Linked DNA regions of Homo sapiens: region 1 is linked to region 2. The links are contacts of gene promoters, found by promoter capture Hi-C in human tissues and cell types (Jung and others, 2019). All regions are on one chromosome and are shown on one strand. The core of a region is centred on a gene start or on the middle of the fragment in contact, and the rest is flanking DNA. Distances in the headings are between cores, read along the strand shown. Region 1 has its middle 96 kb from the start of METTL14-DT. Region 2 holds the start of PRSS12 (serine protease 12).

The links. Contacts are between HindIII fragments. The study calls those that stand out against the background at their distance.
Region 1: a contact is called between a fragment that was not itself captured here and the fragment with the promoter of PRSS12 in region 2, in 2 of the 25 tissues and cell types used here (adrenal gland and mesendoderm cells).

What each region holds. Positions count from the first base shown.
Region 1 is chr4:118,587,790-118,591,666 of GRCh38, reverse strand. No RefSeq gene overlaps it. Among named protein-coding and RNA genes, the nearest start is that of METTL14-DT, 96 kb to the left of the region's middle. RefSeq lists an enhancer at 1-82. The HindIII fragment of the contact is 7,643 bases long and covers 1-3,877 here.
Region 2 is chr4:118,351,651-118,355,444 of GRCh38, reverse strand. It overlaps PRSS12 (serine protease 12), which reads left to right and starts at 2,442. Exons shown (of 13, transcript NM_003619.4): 1 at 2,442-3,226. The coding sequence starts at 2,725. RefSeq lists silencers at 2,216-2,475, 2,506-2,585 and an enhancer at 1,852-2,697. The HindIII fragment of the contact is 10,666 bases long and covers 1-3,794 here.

The DNA of each region.
Region 1 (3,877 bases), core at 1,240-3,739, 240 kb before region 2:
GAAGGCACCACTGCACTCCAGCCTGGCAACAGAGGGAGACTTTGTCTCAAAAAAAAAAAAAAAAAAAAAAAAAAAAGAGAGAGACAAATCTTACCAGCAGCCTGTGAACCAGGAAGTGAAAGTCCAGCCCAAGCTCAGGAAAGTGGAGTCAGCATTGCTCCACCTAGCAAGGCCCCTTCCTCTTCTCCAGAGACTCCAGAATATGGACATTTGCTTCACCTCCTCAAAACCTTTCTTCTTACTTGGTTGGGAGTCATTTGACCATAGCAACTGTATCAGTCAAGGTCAACCAGAAGCAGAAGCATTAGGAGATTTTATAGAAGATAGAAATAGAGATATAGATACAGGTGTTAGAGATATAGAAATGATAGACGAGAGAAACAGAGATGAGAGATAGAAAAAGAAATATAGAGATGAGATGAAGATAGAGATAGAGATGGTAGGGACAGAGATAATAGAGATAGAAATAGATATATACAGGGTTTTGTTAGAGGTATGTAATTTGTCAGCATCGAAATGGAGTCACTTATGTTAAGATAACCTTGACAAATAGAGCCAGGGAAAGACATGAAGAGGATTCTCATGCTTACATGCCTGCTAACAGAAACGACCACCAAAAGCAATAAAAACTACAACTTAGCACAAAGGCTGTCACAACCTTACATAAAAAATACTCCTGCAAGGACATCTGCCCAGCGACTGCCTATACACTCTCGGACTGGCATCACCCTTGCTATTGTTCTCTGTAGCCCAGGATAATTATTTCAAAAACAATTATGTAATCCTCCTTATTTTTTCCTTTAAAAATCTTTGTCTTCCTTTAACCGCCCTGAATACCAACATAGTTTACTGCTGCATGCATATTTCCACTGCAGTGCTTTATTCCCAAATAAGTATCTTTTAGAGAGCTTCTCTCTGTTATTTAGGTTGACAGAGGTATTTAACCTTAAGCAATTGTGGGAGCTGGTTAAGTCATCTCTGAAAAGCTGTTTTTGTGTCTGAGGGAAGTTGACGTCTATAGGGTGGGCAGTTGAGAAGTGTGTTAGGCTGTTCTTGCATTGCTGTAAAGAAATACCTGAGACTGGGTAATTTATAAAGAAAAGACGTTTAAATGGTTCACGCTTCTGTAGGCTGTACAGGAAACATAGCTGCAGTATCGGCTTCTGGGGAGGCCTCGGGAAGCTTACAGTCATGGCAGACGAAGCAGGAGCTTGCATGTTGCATGGTGAAAGTAGGAGCAAGAGGATGGGGGGAGGTGCCACACACTTTTAACTAGATTTTGCAAGAACTCACTACTGTGAGAACAGCACCAAGGGGATGGTGCTAAACCATTCATGAGAATTCTACCCCCATGATTCAGTCACCTCCCACCGGGCCCTACCTCTAACACTGGGGATTACAATGCAACATCAGATTTGGGTGGGACAAGTATACAAACTATTAATATATCAGAAAGGAAAGATGGATATTAAAAGAGAGCAGGCCAGGCACAGTGGCTCACGCCTAATCCCAGCACTTTGGGAGGCTGAGGCAGGTGTATCATGAGGTCAGGTGTTCAAGACCAGCCTGGCCAAGATGGTGAAACCCGTCTCTACTAAAAATGTAAAAATTAGCCGGGCATGGTGGCAGATGCCTGTAATCCCAGCTACTCAGGAGGCTGAGGCAGGAGAATCACTTGAACCTGGGAGGCGGAGGTTGCAGTGAGCAGAGATAGCACCACTGCACTCCCGCCTGGGTGACGGAGCAAGACTCTGTCTCCAAAAAAAAAAAAAAGAGGAAGAGCAACGTGAAACCACAATAAGGAGCTGAGCTGGAGCCCACAAAAATGGACCGAAGTCTTTTTCAGTTCTTGCTGCATCTGAGCTTGATGGTGACCTTGAACGTCCTGCAGTAACCAACACCATCCAAGAGCTCAACACATACCCAGGAGTGGGAGAAGCTGAGGCAGGCTTGGGAGGGTGGAGCAGTTGCAGGCCTGACCCCTGCCTCATGCGAACAAGGTGAGCCAGGAGATGAGTGACAAGGTGTGTGAGCTACACAATGGCTGCAACTTTCCTTGCTCCCCGCAAATCTCCTGGAAGAATCTGTTTTGTGGCCCATCCCAACCAAAAACCAATAGGAAAGGTAATTTTGGGAAATGTAATTCAACCAAGCTAAACTGACACATTAAAAAACCACCAGAGCAACTAAAATAGCATTTGTGGGATAGCAGAGAATTTCAATTACCCATGTTCTTTCTTGTCCCAATTAGCATTGACAATCAAAAATGTGTCTGTGGGCGGTCTATCCAAGTTTATCACATAAGGAATTGTTTTATAATCACCTTTCCCTGTATTTGGAAATCCTGCCAGAACACTGTGATGAATTCACCACGTACACATAGCTCAAGCTGCTTTTTAATGGAGAGGGGATAAAAAGACTTACAAGAGAATACAAACCCACTAAATAATGCTAAAGAAAGATTCCATCTGTAGAGAACTTCCCCTCAATACCCATGGTCACAAGGAAAGAGGTGAGGGTATCTGCTCTAAGAAAGAACAAGGTTGACCAACTGCAGAATGAGCCAGAATAGAATGGGATAGTTAATGAACTTGAATTTTAGTTGCCTTAAAAGGATGATGATCCAAGCATGAGCTCTTGAGGTTAATGCAGTCTGATGCAGGAAAAACCTCAGTGGTAACACATGTTTTTTCCTAGGGATGGCCCAGAGGTCATTTTCCACTGTGAGACAGGAAAGACCTGGAAACAGCTTAATTAGGAAACAAAGTGTTTTAGTGGTGCTGAAAACTGGTGAAAGCAGCAGTCAGAATCCTTCATAGACACAGTGGCAAAGGGACTCCATTTGTGAGATCCAGACCAACTTCAATTGATCTCCAGTGGATGCAACCGTAGAGCCATCCCTGGTGGTCTGAGGGGAGAAAAGCAGCATCTGTCAATGGAACACCTGATGAAGACAGGCCCGCAGCAGAGAACAGCTGGCAGCAGAAGGGGCTGGGGGACTTCTCTTTAGGAGCTGGGTTTCTGGAAGCCAGGTAGGAAACACACACACACACACACACACACACACACACACAGCACTGTAACAATAAGGGCTGCAAGTTCTAAGTGTTCAGAAGATGTTTTAAAAGCCATAAAGATGGAACAAGGGCCAGATGCAGTGGCTCACACCTGCAGTCCCAGCAATTGAGAGGCTGAGGTAGGCGGATGGCTTGAGCCCAGGAGTTTGAGACCAGCCTGAGCACATAAGATGATCCTCTCTCTACAACAAAAAAATATAAAAATTAGCCAGGCATGGTGGTGCATGCCTGCAGTCCCTACAGGCTGAGGTGGTGCACATCGTTAGCACCTGAGCCTCCTGAGTAGCTGAGGGACTACAGGCAGTCCCGTATTGGCCCCAGTTGTTCATCCCTCCTTAAATCTATAATTTCTACTGTGTAAATTTGCAGTTCCTTCCACTCAAGATGTAAACTGCCCCAACTCATAACTTCAGGCTTGGCCATGTAACTTCCTCCTACCTCAGCCTCCTGAGTAGCTGAGGGACTCCCTGCTGAGGTAGGAGGATCGCTTCAGCCCAGGAGGTTGAAGCTGCAATGAGCTGTGGTCACACCACTGCACTACAACCTGGGTGACAGAGAGAGACCCTATCTCAAAAAACAAAAGATGGACCAAGACATGTATTAGGTCATTCAAGGGCCATCGAGTTCACAAGAGATGCAAGGAACATTGAGGATTTTGTGCTACTGGATTAAAGGAGAGTTCTACCTTTTATACCTTAAATTCTGAATATATATGCATTTTCAATTTCTTATTTCCAGGGGATTCAGGGACTCAGATTTCTCCCACCTCACACACACACACACATCCTGATCCAATAATA
Region 2 (3,794 bases), core at 1,193-3,692:
GAATTGGAAATTCTAAACATCTGTATGTTGGTAGCAGCAAGGAGAAATGAAAGAAGAGAGGAAGAGAAAATATTAGCAGAGGAGGGGACTAACATGTCAAGAAGAGAGCTATTTAAGACACACTTTTCCTGTCAAATAGAAGGCAAAACCCAAGCCAAGGCCCTCAAATCATAATTACATAAATGCCCTTATATTTTCTAAGAAAAGTATGTTTTAAAACTTAAATGATGAAATCCGGACGTGGAATTTTCTGTGGGTAACTCCACTTTGTGTATGTCAATTTTATAGTCTGTTAAATGTTAAGTGGCCTCAGAGTACAGGGAAGTGGAGGAGAGGCCAGACTGCCTGAGGCCATGCTCCTCTCTGGAGCTCAGATCTAACAGTCTTCTGTTTTATTCACTTCTCTCTCATTATTTTCCTGTCTGCAAGGTATGTAGATGCATGGAAATTGGGTCTGCTTCTGGACCCCCAGGAAGCATGGAAGCAATGATTGTAGGGGTCAATGTGGGAAGGGGAGGGAGCAGGGTCCAAGCAGCCTCCCCACAGTCCTAAAATGAGCCTTCCCTGGGCCATCAGGTGTGTAGCCTAAGGTGGAAAAGCTAGTCAGAAAGAAAAAGGGCTGACCCCTGATAGAACTGTCACCTATTATTTCAAAAATCTGTGATTGATGAGCTCTGCCAACCCTCACTAAAATGAACAAATAGACTACTCCAGATATATATTTTATCTTTCATTGTCTTCCACAAGTATAGATTTAACTATGCTTTTGGAGCCAGAAAAGTATTAGTAAAAAAATAATGGGTAAAAACAACTGGAATGAAAACAACTTGAATAAAGATTTGACAAATACATCCCTGGACTCTTAACATCATTTCTTTTACCCAATTCTCTCTAAAGTAAAATCAAATATTTCATTAATAGGAGTGAAACAAAAAACAATAAAACGACCCACAAAATTAAAGATGGATTTTTTTTTTTTTTCTTGAGACAACGTCTCCCTCTGTCGCCCAGGCTGGAGTGCAGTGGCACGATCTCGGCTCACTGCAACCTCTGCTCCCAGGTTCAAGCGATTTTCCTGGCTCAGCCTCCCAAGTAGCTGGAATTACAGGCGTGCGCCAACACTCCCCCGGCTTTTTGTATTTTTAGTAAAGGCGGGTTTCATCATGTTGGCGACGCTGTTCTCGAACTCCTGGCCTCATGTGATCCGCCTGCCTGGGCGTCCCAAACTGCTGGGATTACAGGTGTGAGCCACCTCGCCCGGCTAAAGATGGCTTATTTAAAGCTAGTAGTGAATTAATTCAGTTCCTAATTGAAACCTAGGTTTTAACAATAAACATTTGAATTTTGTTCAAGTTTTCTTCAGGGTACATTATATTATGAGACAGCATTGCTTTTTCACAACGAAACGTGACCATGCCAGAAAATAAAATGTTGCCTTCTTTACGGGCTTCCTTCTCCTTGTCAAACTTTGGTAGCATAGTCAGAAACAACTGAAAGGCAAAATACTAAAACATACAGCTCCAGTAACTTTTTTTTTTTAAGATTCTAAGCCAACAGTTTTTTGGAGCCTGCGGGAGGGGGGCGAGGAGTGTTGAAAGGGCCCTACTAAGCTGAGGTCGAGCCAACAGTGAAGCTTCAAAATTGTCAGCAGGCAGAGTCTCTGGAGAGGCAAATGAATAGGCTTAACAGAAGTCCCTTGCCCTGCAAAAAACGAGGCAGGTGCTAGGGGGGTGGACTTTTTGGATAGGATGGAAACCGGGACGGATGAAGTCTTCTCTGGTTAGAGAGGAAATTTGGTATTAAGAGAGCCTCACTGAATCCCAATAATAACCAAACAACTGGTGTTGTCCAGGGCACCGGCTGGAAAGTGGGAGGCAGGAAGCAGAAAGGCTCAAGCTCCTTTCCCTGAGTCGGTTCAGGATTTTAATTTCAGCCAATGTTTATTGGGGCACGGTGTTAAGCACGGTGATATCAAGCTGAATAAAACGTGGTCTTGTCCTTGAAGAGCGTATAGTTCAGTGAAATGGCTTTAACATTCCTCGTGGGTTTTGATAACTTTTATCCTGGGAGTTGTCAGGGAAGAGCTGCATCTAAATCCATCCATACTTTGGTAAAGATTTCAAAACAGAGGAAGCAAGATACGGGGCGACGAGGTTGGAGGAGAGATGACGGCAGGGGCCGGTGCCAGATTTGGGAGCCGCCAACGCCGGGCTGTGCTGGTGCTGCATGCTGGCAAGGGGCAGCCAAGACCGTGCTCCGCGCGGGCACCCTCGGGCTCGGTCCCAGCAGCTGGCAGTGCCGTGCGGGCGGACTGCGGTGGGCCTGGCAGGGGCCGAGCGTAGGTCCGGAGCAGCTTGCGCGGCCGGCGCCCGCCCCCAGGGGGCAGAGTTCCCGGGCTCGTGCCTGCGCCGCTACCTGGGGCTCAGGCCCAACCGCTCCCCGCTGCGTCCGCGCCTTCTCTTTTCCGGTCCTCTCCGCCGGCCGGGGCTCGGCTGAGCTCCAGATTTCCCCACCCGCGGCCGCCGCCAGGGGACAGGAGCCGAGGCGCGGCAGGGCACCAGCGGCGGGAGGCAAGGTTGGGGAGGCGAGGGCGGTCCGCGTGCGGGGGCGGGAGGGGGCTGGGGGATTCGAGGGACGCGGCAGCCCCGCCCCCGCCCCCTCCTCTTCTCCGCTCCAAGCCCGAGAAGCTGGGGAGCATGGACCAGACCCCGCAGCGCTGGCACCATGACGCTCGCCCGCTTCGTGCTAGCCCTGATGTTAGGGGCGCTCCCCGAAGTGGTCGGCTTTGATTCTGTCCTCAATGATTCCCTCCACCACAGCCACCGCCATTCGCCCCCTGCGGGTCCGCACTACCCCTATTACCTTCCCACCCAGCAGCGGCCCCCGAGGACGCGTCCGCCGCCGCCTCTCCCGCGCTTCCCGCGCCCCCCGCGGGCGCTCCCTGCCCAGCGCCCGCACGCCCTCCAGGCCGGGCACACGCCCCGGCCGCACCCCTGGGGCTGCCCCGCCGGCGAGCCATGGGTCAGCGTGACGGACTTCGGCGCCCCGTGTCTGCGGTGGGCGGAGGTGCCACCCTTCCTGGAGCGGTCGCCCCCAGCGAGCTGGGCTCAGCTGCGAGGACAGCGCCACAACTTTTGTCGGAGCCCCGACGGCGCGGGCAGACCCTGGTGTTTCTACGGAGACGCCCGTGGCAAGGTGGACTGGGGCTACTGCGACTGCAGACACGGTTAGTGGCCTCGGGGCGGCCGCGGAAACTCCGGACGGGCTCGGAGCCAGTGAGGCTTGGGGCCGGCGTACAGGTCTCTTGGAAAAAGTGACGGGGTGTGTGGGGTTGTGGGCTTGCGTTTGCGGGCTGTGATGGTGGGCTGCAGCTGGGTTACCAGTAAGGTATACTGGTGCTGCAAATCTAAGCCAGCCAGGTGTGCTTGTGTGAAGGTTGTCAGGGGTGACAGTTCTATGCAAGGTGCTGAGCTCTGGGTTTCTGAATTTGCTCTGTCCTCTGGCCACTGTGTGTGTGTGTGCGCTCGTGTATTGGGTGACAGTGTGCTTTGGGCGTCTGTTCTCTAGATTAGCTTACGTTGAGTGGGTTACCATATTTACATTAAAGAGGCATAATTACTTGTTCTGGAAAGGGAAATGTTACATTAACGTGGCAATCAATAACCTTCCCTCCATTCTTTAGACTCCGATTTTTAAAAATGTGGTAAAATTTTGCCTTAATTTAGCTGTTGACCTCTGTTTTAAAAAGTATGGCAAAATTATGTGGCCAAAATCAGCCATATTCACATACTCCA